2 separate regions of the Homo sapiens genome follow, and region 2 is linked to region 1. Evidence: promoter capture Hi-C in 16 types of primary human blood cells and fetal thymus (Javierre and others, 2016). All regions are on one chromosome and are shown on one strand. Each heading gives the region's core, a stretch centred on a gene start or on the middle of the fragment in contact. The rest is flanking DNA. Distances are from core to core; before and after follow the strand shown.

Region 1 (6,244 bases), core at 209-2,708:
CCTGTGGTCCCAGCTACTTGGGAGGCTGAGGTGGGAGGATCACTTGGACCTGGGAGGTTGAGGCTGGAGTAAGCCATAATCGCACCATTACACTCCAGCCTGGGCAACAAAGTGAGATCCTGTCTCAAAAAGTAAATAAACAAATATCAAACAACAGAATGGGAAAATCTATGTGACGTGCATAATTGAAAAATATATATAATGGTTGACAGAAAAGTATAGATGCTTCAGATTATTCTTGGAAGGAGGTAGAATCCTATGGACATGCAAAACATATATACAGTTAATATAGTCAAAGCACTTACTGAGACACCAGAGAAGGTCAATGGAAGAGGTAAGTACATCATTTTAAAATGAGAAAATGCAACGCTATCACATGGAAAAGCATATTTTTACCCTCACTGAGAAGAGCTGCATATTAATCCACAAATAAAACTACTACTGAATTCAAGCTACCTATTGAGCACATACTATATATGTCACATAGTGCTTTTTGTAGAGCACCTCACTTAAGGTAGAAGGTATCCTCTTTTAAAAATAAGAAAAGAGAGGTACAGAGGTTAGGTAACTTGCTCAAAGCCACACAGCTGACAAGTGGAGGAGTTGGGATTGAAATCCAGGACTGGTTCCAGAGCCCAAGATCTGATCTATTCTGCTAGCTGATCTCCTAAAATTAAAAGATCAAACCCAATGTTAGTGGAAAAGTGTGCCTTGCTAAAAAACACACACAGAGTACCTGCTTTTTTTTTTTTTTTGAGATGGAGTCTCAAAAACAGACGGGAGAATATTAGTCCAAACTGCAACTGCACCATTTTGTAAGCTCCCTGCTATGGTTTTTTGTTTGTTTGTTTGTTTGTTTGTTTGTTTGTTTGTTTGTCTGAGATGGAGTCACTCTGTCACCGAGGCTGGAGTGCAGTGATGCAATCTCAATTCACTGCAACCTCTGCCTTCTGGATTCAGATGTTTCTCCTGCCTCAGCCTCCCGAGCAGCTGGGATTACAGGTGCCCACCACCACACCTGGCTAAATTTTGTATTTTTAGTAGAGATGGGGTTTCACCATACTGGCCACGAAGGTCTCGATCTCAGCCTCCCAAAGTGCTGGGATTACAGGCATGAGCCACCGCGCCCGGCCGAATACCCGCTTTATTTTTGAGTCATCTATTTGGCATACCTCTAAGCCTCCAAAGTCTGCAGGACCACACAAGAACTTTGTTCTAGTTCTGCCCTCAGACTGAAACTCTTTCTGTAGCAGGGCCTGCTCCAATCGTCCTCAAACCCAAAGACTGAGACTTCTAGGTTCTTGGTTAAAACCTTCATGAGGCCTTTGCGACAGCAGACCTGGACCATCGCCAAGGCAAGACTTCTGGATTCTTGGTTAGAACTTTCAGGAGGCCTTTGTGATGCCAGACCTGGGTCATTGCCCCAGCAACCACAGGGCCTGGGACTGGGGGGTTCCCAGATCCTTGAAGCTCACTCCGCCTCCTCACTCTCACTGCATTTCCCACCTTCCTGTGGGCCTTGCGGCATCTTCATCACTGAGGCACCTGGTTACGCTTCACCTCTTGTTTCCTGCCCTCACTGCATTCCCTCACCTCTACCTTTTTATCCTTCCACCCTAGGCTTCTCTCCTCCCTCTTCCCTCACTCCTGACTCTTCCTCTTCCCAGCGGACGGCTGGAGGACCGCTCAGTCTCTCCTCTCTCACTTCCCTTCCTCTCTCTCACCTTCACCACCCAACACCTCCCTCCCTGCCTCTTTCTTTCTGCTCCCTCATTCTCTCCCCACCACTCTCTTCTCGTGGCCCCCTTGCCCGCGCGCCCTCTTCCCTTCCCCTTGCCTCACTCTCTCAGCTTTCTTCCCACAGTTGAGCTCGGGCAGCTCTTTCTGGGGATAGCTATGGGGCTTTGGGGGAAGAAAGGGACAGTGGCTCCCCATGACCAGAGTCCAAGACGAAGACCTAAAAAAGGGCTTATCAAGAAAAAAATGGTGAAGAGGGAAAAACAGAAGCGCAATATGGAGGAACTGAAGAAGGAAGTGGTCATGGTGAGGCCACCCAAAGTGGGCGCTGACAGCTGCCCTCTGAAAACACTCCTCCACCTATCTTTAACATCTTACCTTGAGAATGAAACACACAGGCCAGAGCCACATCTCTTCTCTGTTAGGCTTTGGAGGGAAGGAGAGGGTTAAAAAAAAAAAAAAAGATACACACAGAGAGACAGGGCAGCTCAACAGCAAGCACAGGTATATTGCAGACACCTGTGGAAGTGGGGGATCAGCTTAATTCCACAGTCCACTGCCACTTACAGGCTGGGTACTTATAGGGATGGATGGGAGGAGTCTGGGCTGTATGGCCTGCTGCCTGGCAGGATATCGATAAGATGTTCTCATGATGAGGTGATTTTTGGCCCTTGTTTCCACAGAATATAATCATGGTATTCCCTGGACCTTTGCCCAGCAGGATGTGATAGGGATGTTTCTTTAGTGGGGTCTTTGTCTTTAATTGGGCCTTCGTCTGCCCTGTGGTCAGGTGGTTAGGCAGGCTGTTTCTCTGGCCCGAACCCCCGTGAAATGTTTCACTTTGACCAAGGCCTGTAAAATAGTGGGGAGCTAGGCCGGGCGTGGTGGCTCACACCTGTAATCCCAGCACTTTGGGAGGCTGAGGCAGGCAGATCACCTGAGGTCAGGAGTTTGAGACAAGCCTGGCCAACATGGTGAAACCCCGCCTCTAAAAATACAAAAATTAGCTGGTCCTGGTGATGGGCCCCTGTAATCCCAGCTGCTTGGGAGGCTGAGGCAGGAGAAACACCTGTTGGGAGGCAGAGGTTGCAGTGAGTCGAAATCGCACCACTGTACACCAGCCTGGGCAACAGAGTGACTCCATCTCAAAAAAAGAATTGCAGGGAGCTTACAAAATGGAGCAGTCTCAGTTTGGACTAACATTCTCCAGTCTGTTTCTCCCCCTCTCCCTGGAAATGACCTGGGCCACCCCCTGTCCCTCAATGCCTCTACTGTCCCCTCAGGATGATCACAAATTAACCTTGGAAGAGCTGAGCACCAAGTACTCCGTGGACCTGACAAAGGTGAGTAAGAAGCTCCCTGAGGAGGCAGAGAGTCTCCAACTCTGACTGTGAGGCTGCCAGGACAAAAGCTGAACTAGGAATCCAGCCCCCTAACTTCAAGTCCAACGTTCCCACCCCTCACCCTCTGCCTGGCCACGTTCCATGGACACTACCTGGAAAAAGCTGCAAATGGTAACTACCCTCAAAGAGAGTGTGGGACTAGATAAGAGAATAAGAATGCTTTAGGGCAGTGCTGGTCAAACGTCTTGTCCTTAGGTCTCCTTTACACTCTTAGAATTTATCTAGGACCGCAAAGAACTTGTGCTTATGTGGCTTAAGTCTGTCTATATTTACCATATTAGAAATTAAAATTGAGAGTTTTAAAATGTATTTCTCAATTCATTTAAAAATAACAAAAATAAAGTTATCATATATTCATATATGTTTTGACAAATAACTGTATTTTTCAAAACAAAAAAATTAGCAGCATCTTACATTTTTGCAAACCTCTTCAATGTCTTGCTTTTTAATAGAAGATAGCTGGATTCTCAAATATTTTCTGGATAAAATCTGTTGTGATGTTATGCCAGTTGGCCTTCAGAAAATTCCACTATATACTCTTAAGAAAATGAGAGTAAAAAAAGGCAAACAATGATTTAGTATTACTATGAAAATTGACCTTGTGGACCCCCTGAAAGGGTTTTGGGGCCCCTCGGGTGTTTCAGGCAGAGGTTGGGGAGTGGCTGGTGGTGATTGGCAGGTTCTACTATCATTTTCATTAACAGGAAAAAGCACATAAGCTTGTGCACAAGAGTGGAATGAGAATCTATGCATTCATGTTTTTTGTTAGTATTCTTTTCTATTTATGTTTTTTAAAAATTTATGGGCCAGGTGCCGTGGCTCACACCTGTAATCCAAGGCAGGCAGATCACTTGAGGTCAGTAGTTGGAGACCAGCCTGGCCAACATGGTGAAACCCCATCTGTATTAAAAATACAAAAATTATCCTGGCATAGTGGCACACATCTGCAATCTCAGCTACTTGGGAGGCTGAGGCAGGAGAATCACTTGAATGCAGGAGAATCACTTGAACCTGGGAGATGGAGGTTGCAGTAAGCCGAGATCATGCCACTGCACTCCAGCCTAGGTGACAGAGCAAGACTCTGTCTCAAAAAAAAAAATGGATATGTAGATGTACATATTTATGGTATACATGTATTATTCTGATATAAGCATACAATGTGTAATGATCAAATCAGGGTATTTAGGATACCCATAACCTCAAACATTTATCATTTCTTTGCATGGGAACATTCCAAATCCACTCCTCTAATTATTTTGATATCCATAATAAATTATTAACTATAGTTGCCCTATTGTGCTACCAAACACTAGATCTTATTCCCTCTAAGTTGGAGAGTCAAAGCGTGGTGTTAATATGTTATCAACATTAAGTATTATATTTCATCATGACATTGGCCCTGCACATTATAATTATCTGTATGTATTTATCTCCCCACTGGAGCACCTTAAGGGTAGGGACCATTCTTATTCATGTTGGTATCCTCAGCACCTAGGACCCGAGATAGGTTCTCAAGTTCAAAAAGGTTTGTGAATCAATCCATAAACAAAAACCTTCCTATGTAAGCATGCTAAATGACATCCCTCCTCTAATGCAAATTTTGAAACCTCACCTTATCCAGGAAGAACTTCCAGACTGACCTTCTGAAAGCGTCTTTAGTCTCTAGACCCATTCTGGGGCTCCAAATGTCAGGTTCCCTTTTGCTATGGCTGTTCCTCTTTTCACAGCTCTCTATCCAACCCTATTTCTTCTCTGCACAGGGCCATAGCCACCAAAGGGCAAAGGAAATCCTGACTCGAGGTGGACCCAATACTGTTACCCCACCCCCCACCACTCCAGAATGGGTCAAATTCTGTAAGCAACTGTTCGGAGGCTTCTCCCTCCTACTATGGACTGGGGCCATTCTCTGCTTTGTGGCCTACAGCATCCAGATATATTTCAATGAGGAGCCTACCAAAGACAACGTGAGTCTCTTCAGCTACTACTAGCCAGCCCTATCTCTGCTTAGCCCCAGACACTCTTTTGCTCAGCAGCCTAGCACTCCTGAAGTCCTCTGGCCCAAATCCCTAATTACATTATTACATTAATGTAATAATGTAATAAATGTACATTAATTATAAATGTAATTGATTGTAATTAATTACAATGTAATTGATTAATTACATTGTAATGAATGTAATTAATTATAAAATGTAATTAAATGTACATTAATGTAATAAATGTACATTACATAATAATGTAATAAATGTACATTAATGTAATAAACCAAAATCCCTAATACTCCACTTTCTAAGTTCCATCTTGGTTCCTCTCACCTTTTAATCTAAAAAGCTTCTGGTCCAGTTCCCTGAGGTGCACAATGTCCCCGAAAAACTTGCTGTTCTTTGATGACCTTCCCAATTGATCCCCAAAGCACTTTGCAGTCCCTTTCTCTTCTCCACAATTTTAACCTCATCTCCTTCCTCCCAGCCTCCCTCACAATCCACCCCCTCCATCCAGAGATTAGCCTTCCTGGAGAGAAAGATACAGGCCTTCTCTGACCAGGAATTTTGCTGACGGCTCACCATGGCTCAGGGTTCCTTCCCCAGGAAGCCAAGTGTACTGGTCCCACCTCAGATTCTTCTCTACCCCTCTGCTCTCAACTCAGTCTTACGGTCTCTTACACCTGGTGAAACTGCTGTGCCCCTTGCAGACTGATTTTCTGAGGATGAAGAAGACGACAAGGTCCCACTGATAAACGCTTTCTTTCCCCACCCTCAGCTCTACCTGAGCATCGTACTGTCCGTCGTGGTCATCGTCACTGGCTGCTTCTCCTATTATCAGGAGGCCAAGAGCTCCAAGATCATGGAGTCTTTTAAGAACATGGTGCCTCAGGTAGGATTGGAGTGGGAGGATCTAGTGGGAGCAGGAGCAGGATGTGGCCAAATACACAATGATGAAGTCCCGTGGAAAATTATATCCTATGATAAGTGAGCTGAGTGAGGTTGGTGATGAGGGGGTCAAGGTACTGTATCAGTCCTTAAAAGTACCTGGAAAAGCTGTGAAACCCTGAGAAAGACATAACGTCACCTATGAAGTGCTCTGATCTAGAAGGCAGAATCTGA
Region 2 (6,893 bases), core at 242-2,741, 120 kb before region 1:
TCTTCTTTGTAATGGGAAATAATTTGAATCAGGATGGAACAATTGATAAGAAGAAAGAACAAACCAGCTAACCAAATAAACAGAAAGGTGTTCTTTCCTTGAAACTCTAGAACATAGGCAGGAGCCAGCCACATGGCCTGCCCTATAAACCATAACATTAGGAGAACTACAGCTCTTTTCCAAGGCATTCTGACTAGTGGCATCACAAGAGGCAGTAAGCAGAGGTACCAAAGAAAGTACTGGGAGGTGCAGACTTTGTTAAAAGTCACAAAAATGGACGTATGAAGAAAACAACAAAAAACGAGGTCTCTGTAATAGGCGAAAGACACAGCTGAAAGCAAGATGAGCTGTGGCAGGAATGCAGCAATTCCCAGGGAAAAACTCCACTTGCTCTCTGCAGTCAAATACAGCATGTAGAAGTACGGAGAAAAGTTGTGACGGATATCCCGCCTAGTCAGGTGATAAAAGTAGGTGTGTTCCAAAAATTCCCAGCCGTACTCATAGTAAAAACCAAAGCTCAGGGCAAAAAACGTGAGTCCAGCAACTGCTACAAACAGCAGCACAGCCCGATTACACAGCCTTTTCAGGAGCTCGTACAAACAAGCCTGGAAAGTGTACCGGAATTGACGGAGGCTTTTGTCATTGTCGCGATCTGGAAGCAGGTGGAGGGTTATGGGAAGGATGTAAGTCACTGGATATATCTTCATATGCACCGCGAAACCATAGAATACAGCTGCACACGCGACGAGTCTTTTCTTTATCAAGTAGAGGACCATCAGGACCAGGGAGGCGACAATAGAGTCCGCATTACCGCGGCTGGATACTGCCATAGGCAGGGGGTTAAGAAGCCAAAAGACACAGTAGCCACAAGCCTGGCGGCGCCCCAGCCCCTTCAGCAGCAGCAGGCGGTATAAGAGGAAAGCGGTGAGGAGGTCGCAGCTGATGAAGAGAAACTTTCCAAAGAGCTCGCTGAGGTAGATGTTGGGAGTGAGGAGCCAACCCAGCAGCGGGGTGTAACGGTACGTGGCTCTCAGGTAAGGCGAGCGCCCCTCCGTGACGAAGCGCGCGGCGTCGGTGAAGACCTGGTAGTCGATGTCCGTATACCTCACGTGCAGGGTCCGGTCCTGGAAGACGCCATAGAAAACCAGGGCGACTCTGGCTAGAAAGGCCACACCAAAGACGCCGGCTGGAGCCACCTTCAAGTTCAGGAGCCATTCGCCCCAGTGCTTGGTGGAGCCCATGATCTGACCGTGCGACAGCTGCTTAGCCCCAGCTCCAAACTGCCTTCGTACTTCTAACCTTCCCTTCGGTTCTTTGCAGCAGGTGGCCGCCGCATCTCCCACCCGCCAGGCTGCCAACCGAAACGACTGCAGACTATCACATCCGGCATGAAGCCCCGCCCCCGTACTGCTACCTGTCTCCAGCCCCGCGCGGTCTTCTCAGCCGCCCGAGCCAAAAACTTGCCTTCCTCTGGATGGACGGTCTCGCTTCCGCTTCTTCTTCCAGCGGAGGCGGGATTTCCGGTCCGTGGGAGGGGAGACGTCCGCTTGCCGGGAAATCCGGCACTGGCTTGAGGATTTTATGGAGTGGAGTGAGATTTCTTTGTAAGTGACAGCCCGCCGCCCCCCGCCCTCTTCCCGCGCCCCATTTCCAGTCCTCAGAGGAAAACCCTCCGACGAGCAGCGAGCTGCGGGCTGCGCGCTACATCCTTCAGTCCTGGGCTGGAGATCCGAGAGTGAAAAATGTAGGAGTGAAAGGAAGATAAGCCTTCTCATGCTTTACTCCACTAGCTCGCCGGTATTCACCGGGGATTTGTGGGCCCCGGACAGGACAGGATGAGTTGAAGGGGGCTGAGTGTGTATGTTCCATGCAATATTGGAGGCATACTTATATTTTTAAATTACTAGTTGGTAATCAGAGATTCAGATTTAAGTGGGCAGCTTGTATTTTATCCGGCAACCCTAGGTGAAGGTGATGGGAAAGAAGACAGGAAAGCGTCACAAAATTCCTTAACTTGTCAGCCCCTTATGCCTCAGTATCTCTGTATTTGCTATTTCTTCTGTCAAAGTTGCCATCCGCTCTCCAATCACTCTGGCAAATACCTACTCAACCCTTCAGGCATCAGTGCAAGTGTTAGCTCCCAGCTCCCACTCACTTCCTCATCACGCAGAATGAATGACTTAGATGCCAGTCCCCTCCCCTGTCCGAGGATAGGTAGACTGGGGCGGACGGGATCTAAGTTCCAGAAAATCACTCACACAGAAGACCCTGCCATGCTACTAAAAGTTCTCCCAGTGCTCCAGAACTCCCTGGTCATTCCTTTGTTACAGCATTTGTCACACTGCTTTGTAATAACTGTTTTTGTTTGTTTTGCTCTCCTAGTTTTCCATCAGGACACTTTCAATTCTTCGGTATCAGAGATTATCTTGTTCTTTTCTCTACCTCAACATCTAACACAGTACTAGTAGCCATTCAGTAAAGTTGAATTGATTTTAGAGGTTCCTCCTACCAGAATATTTCTAGAGTGGCATCTTTGGATTGCTCCCAACTCCCAGTTATTTTCCCTTTTAAATATCCTTTATGTATGTCAAGGTCCCCTGCTCCCCCCACCCCACTCCAACCCTACTTCCATGAATTTCTTGCCAAGGACTGTAACCCATTAGCTCTTCCCTTTCCGTGGTTACTTAGTGCACTTACATAGTCCGCATTGTAGAATTTGATACTTTATTTTAGATTGTATTCATAGCCCTCACAAGAGATTATAGGGTTCTTGGGGGTAGAAATTATATCTTATCCTTAATTTTTTTCAATTATGTGTAATTTATTGTAGTCTTAGGCACATGGTAAATGCTTAGTAAATACTGACTAATTGGATTTTATAGAATAAGCCTGCTTCCTAGGGGAAGTCTTCTAGACTAGAATAAGGAAAAGGAGGTGACTTCATGCAGTCTGAACATGCAGCTCCCAGAACTACCTGCTGCTCATCCATCCTACACTTCAATTTATCCCTTGGAGATGAACTGTGTTAATCTTATATATTCCATATTCATATTGTGATAGCTCTATGTCCTTTTATATGCCTTGGTATCATTACATGCCTTAGATTGATAATTCTAACCATTTTTTTGCAGTATATTAGCCATATATATAGTGGCAGCACATCACCACTCATATAATGATGATTATGATGATGATGATTACTATTATTTATAATAGCTGGATTTGTTGAGGACTCATTTGCAATGTACCAGGCATTATGCTAAGTACTTTTCATGTAAGGTAGATATTCCCACCTTTACAAATGAAGAAAACCAAGGCTTATGGAGATTAAGTAATTTTCCCAAGTCACATAGCTAACTAGTGACAGTGCTAGAACTCAAAACCCAGTCTGTCTGACCTAGAATATCTTAATCATTATGTGGCTGACTTGCCAATAAAATGTTGATCACAAATTCTAATTTTCCTATGTTTTCTCTTATTGATCTCTCATCTTGATATTCTGGATATTCTCTCTCACTGTGACTCTTTCTACCTCTGATTTATTCTTTTCTTCTGCAAATAATAGATAAGTGAGGCTTAGTTCCCTAAGATAGAAAATATGGGAGGTAGGTGTCTGAGGATTAACTAAGTAAGGGTCCTTGTGGCTGGATTGGTTTCAGTAGTATAGCAGAAAGGTTTCAGTCAATCTGTCCCTACATGGCTGTCCTAGTAGAGAGATGGGAGGCACCAAATTTAGGCAGATAAGGAAACAACTAATAAAAAAATAAAATAAAAAAAAAACTAAGCATGTCACTGAAGTCAAAGGAGTGAGATGTAGATAGCAGTTGTGGGAACGAAGAAGAGACTGGAATCTGTAAAACAAATTGGACAGAGAGGTCCAACTTTAGTTACTATTTCTGGGTGGAAGAGATACATCACAGGGTCCGAGGACCCCATATTGAACTTTTTGCATTGGGTTTAGGGATTGTATTTTCTCACCTCTTTCTGAAAGAGTTACATTTTTTTCAAATGCTCAACTGTTCATTACCTCTCGGACTGTTACTTACAATCCTTCTTAATTCCCCCTTTCACTATCTGCTCCTAGATTTCTATCCTTTTAGAGCCAATGACTAAGGAAAGCACAAACATGGATCGCTCAACTTTAGTTTCCCTAGCAGGAACCTTGTCCTTGTTCACTATGCTGCATATACTCTCATTACCCTTCCATATCCACTATTCATCTTTTTTGCCCTGTTCTGTGTTCCAAGAGGTTAGGCTGTATGGGTAGCATCACTCAATCTCCCTTGTTCTCTGGCTTCCCATTAGAATAGACCAGTGGGAGGCACTAGCAGATCTTTGGCAGTGTCTGGAATTCCTCACCTAAAGCCATGGCTCCTGTTGAAGCTATAGCTCTCTCCTTTGGGTACAAGTCTCATGGTTCCAGTAACTGTCCCTTCAGGTTTAAGGCTGGTAAAGGCGTCCTACTTTGCGAGTGCCTGGGTACATCACCATATCTTGTTGATTTATTAAACTTGCCCATACCTTTGCAAATAGTTTCTTCATTAAAACATGTCCACTGGCCCTTTGAGTATACCATCTGTTTCCTGCTAGAACCTTGACTACTTTAATCACTTTCTTTTTCACTAGATTTTGTTCATATGTCTTGCTTTGTCATTTCTTTGGAATCTATTTCTAATTCTTTCCATGCCCAGCATCCTGCACCTTAGTTCAGACCTTCAACAACTCAAATAATACGTAGCGAACACCTATACTATACTATACCAGGATCTGTGACAATTGCCTTTCCCTCAAGCTTTAAAAATCTCTTAACTGATTTAATGTCTTATGTCTCAATTCTACTACCAGATTGATATTAATTAATAGTACTTTACTTAGATTCTTTCCTCCATCAAACATCTTCAGTGGTTCCTGACTGCCTAAAGAAAAAAATAATGAACACTTTAGCCTGATATTCAGTCCCCCTATTTTCTGGCTTTACCTTAGCTTTCCATCCTATTCACCTATAATGCCTCTGTTTTAGGTTTACTGTTCCCAAAATATGCCTTGTGCTTTCTTCTCATGACACTTTCTTCATGCTGTACTTCCTACAAAGAGACCTGTTTCTCTTTACTTACTTAAATGCTATTTGGTTTTTCAATGTTGAACCCAACTCTCAACTCCTCTTCCTAGACCTTAACAAGTGAAATAGTCTCTCCCTCCTCAAAACAGTGATGTTTATTGTCTGTTCTCTTTTTTAATAGTAATTATGTCATGCTCGTTATCTAACTCTTTTATAGTTATTTAACAAGATATACAAGCTCCACTGCATACTTTAGGCCATTTCTTTCTCTCTTTGCTTTCTTTCCCTCCTGCTAATTTATCAAACATCATACATGTCGGGCACTATATGAGGTGCTGGGCTGTACTCGTGACCAAACACTTGACATGAATCCCATTCATGTGACACTTGAAGTCTAGTAAGCTACACAGACATTAGTCAAATAAATTGACAAATAATATACAAATGCAGCTGTGGTAAGTGCTCTAGCTTTTAAGGGGATTTATTTGATCTCAGATGGGCATAGTGTAAGAGTTAAGAAGGTTGGCCAGGCACAGTGGCTCACGCCTGTAATCCCAGCACTTTGGGAGGCTGAGATGGGTGAATCACCTGAGGTCAGGGGTTCGAGACCAGCCTTACCAATATGGTGAAACCCTGTCTCTACTAAAATTACAAAAGTTAGCCATGCGTGTTGGCGTGTGCCTGGAGTCCCAGCTACTCAGGAGGCTGAGGCAGGAGAGTCGCTTGAACCCGAGAGGTGGAGGTTGCAGTAAGCTGAGATCGTGCCACTGCACTCCAGTCTGGGCTACAGAGCAAGACTCCGTCTCAAAAAAAAAAAAAACAAGAAAATTGGAAGTTGGCAAGCAGTGGGGAGAGTTCCACAGAAGGAATAGCAGGTGGAAAGTGCCATGATTGTACATCCCTTGATTCATGCATCATGTCTTATATTTCTTTGTCAGCTGAATGATACCTTCCACATAATAGGGACTCAGCGTTTGCTGATTTTTCTTGAACCTTAATGTATTCTAACCAAACATGTTAGATTGATACCATCCCTTCCCTAGTTCCTGTCCCTGTGAAATGTTTCCCACAGAGATCTCACTCTTTTTGGAACATTCTGCTAATGTTATATCTGGCATTAGTACATGGTACCTGCTATTGCTTTTCATTATATTTGTTATATGCTACTTGTTTTATTTCTGTTTTCTAACAAGTTTATAGGTTTCTTCAACCTTTTAGGCCTTTTAGGAACAATACATGTCCTATATCTTATATGTCTCATATGTCTTAGGATTCATTCCTAGTATTTCCTAAATGTTGTACTTAAGTATTTATTGATCATGGTAAGAGACCCAATTTTCTCCCTCCTCCTCTCTCTCTCCTTCCACTTCTGGGGAACAAGAGTCAGCGATCATAGGGTCTTTTGCCTCTCATCAGAGAAAATTCAGGCCTGGATATTAACAACCAGACCTTTCTCAGGCTACTGACAGACAAGGGTAGAAGAGAAATCCATTTATTTGAGATTTGAGGGAAGAAATGCCTGGTGATTAAAGGAATAAGCTTACAAAGAACCTTGAGGATATATAAGGAAAACTGGCAACAAGACTACATGGTAGCATGGAAGGGAAATTGGGCTTGTGATCACTGGCCAAAAGGGACAATGCCCAGGATCCAAAGCAACTTGACTTTTATGGATTAAGCTGAGCCAATTTTCATACTTCTGGGTCTTAAAGTTTTTTTCAGTATTGTCCCATGAAAACCGAATGTGAAAGGAACTCGCTAAAGCATGAGAGAAAAACAGAAGGGGCTTGGCCATGCAGTCAGAAGTTCTTCCAGCACAGCCGAATTCAACCCT

What was found. Contacts are between HindIII fragments. The CHiCAGO score rates a contact against its expected background, and 5 or more counts as called.
Region 2: the fragment with the promoter of PIGM here is called in contact with the fragment with the promoter of ATP1A4 in region 1 in 15 of 17 cell types (M0 macrophages, M1 macrophages, erythroblasts and 12 more); the score reaches 12.0 in M0 macrophages.

What each region holds. Positions count from the first base shown.
Region 1 is chr1:160,150,145-160,156,388 of GRCh38, forward strand. ATP1A4 (ATPase Na+/K+ transporting subunit alpha 4) reads left to right here and starts at 1,459. Exons shown (of 22, transcript NM_144699.4): 1 at 1,459-2,043; 2 at 3,021-3,080; 3 at 4,901-5,104; 4 at 5,901-6,014. The coding sequence starts at 1,897. The HindIII fragment of the contact is 4,407 bases long and covers 1-3,857 here.
Region 2 is chr1:160,030,499-160,037,391 of GRCh38, forward strand. It overlaps PIGM (phosphatidylinositol glycan anchor biosynthesis class M), which reads right to left and starts at 1,492. Exons shown (of 1, transcript NM_145167.3): 1 at 1-1,492. The coding sequence starts at 1,241. The HindIII fragment of the contact is 5,226 bases long and covers 1-4,790 here.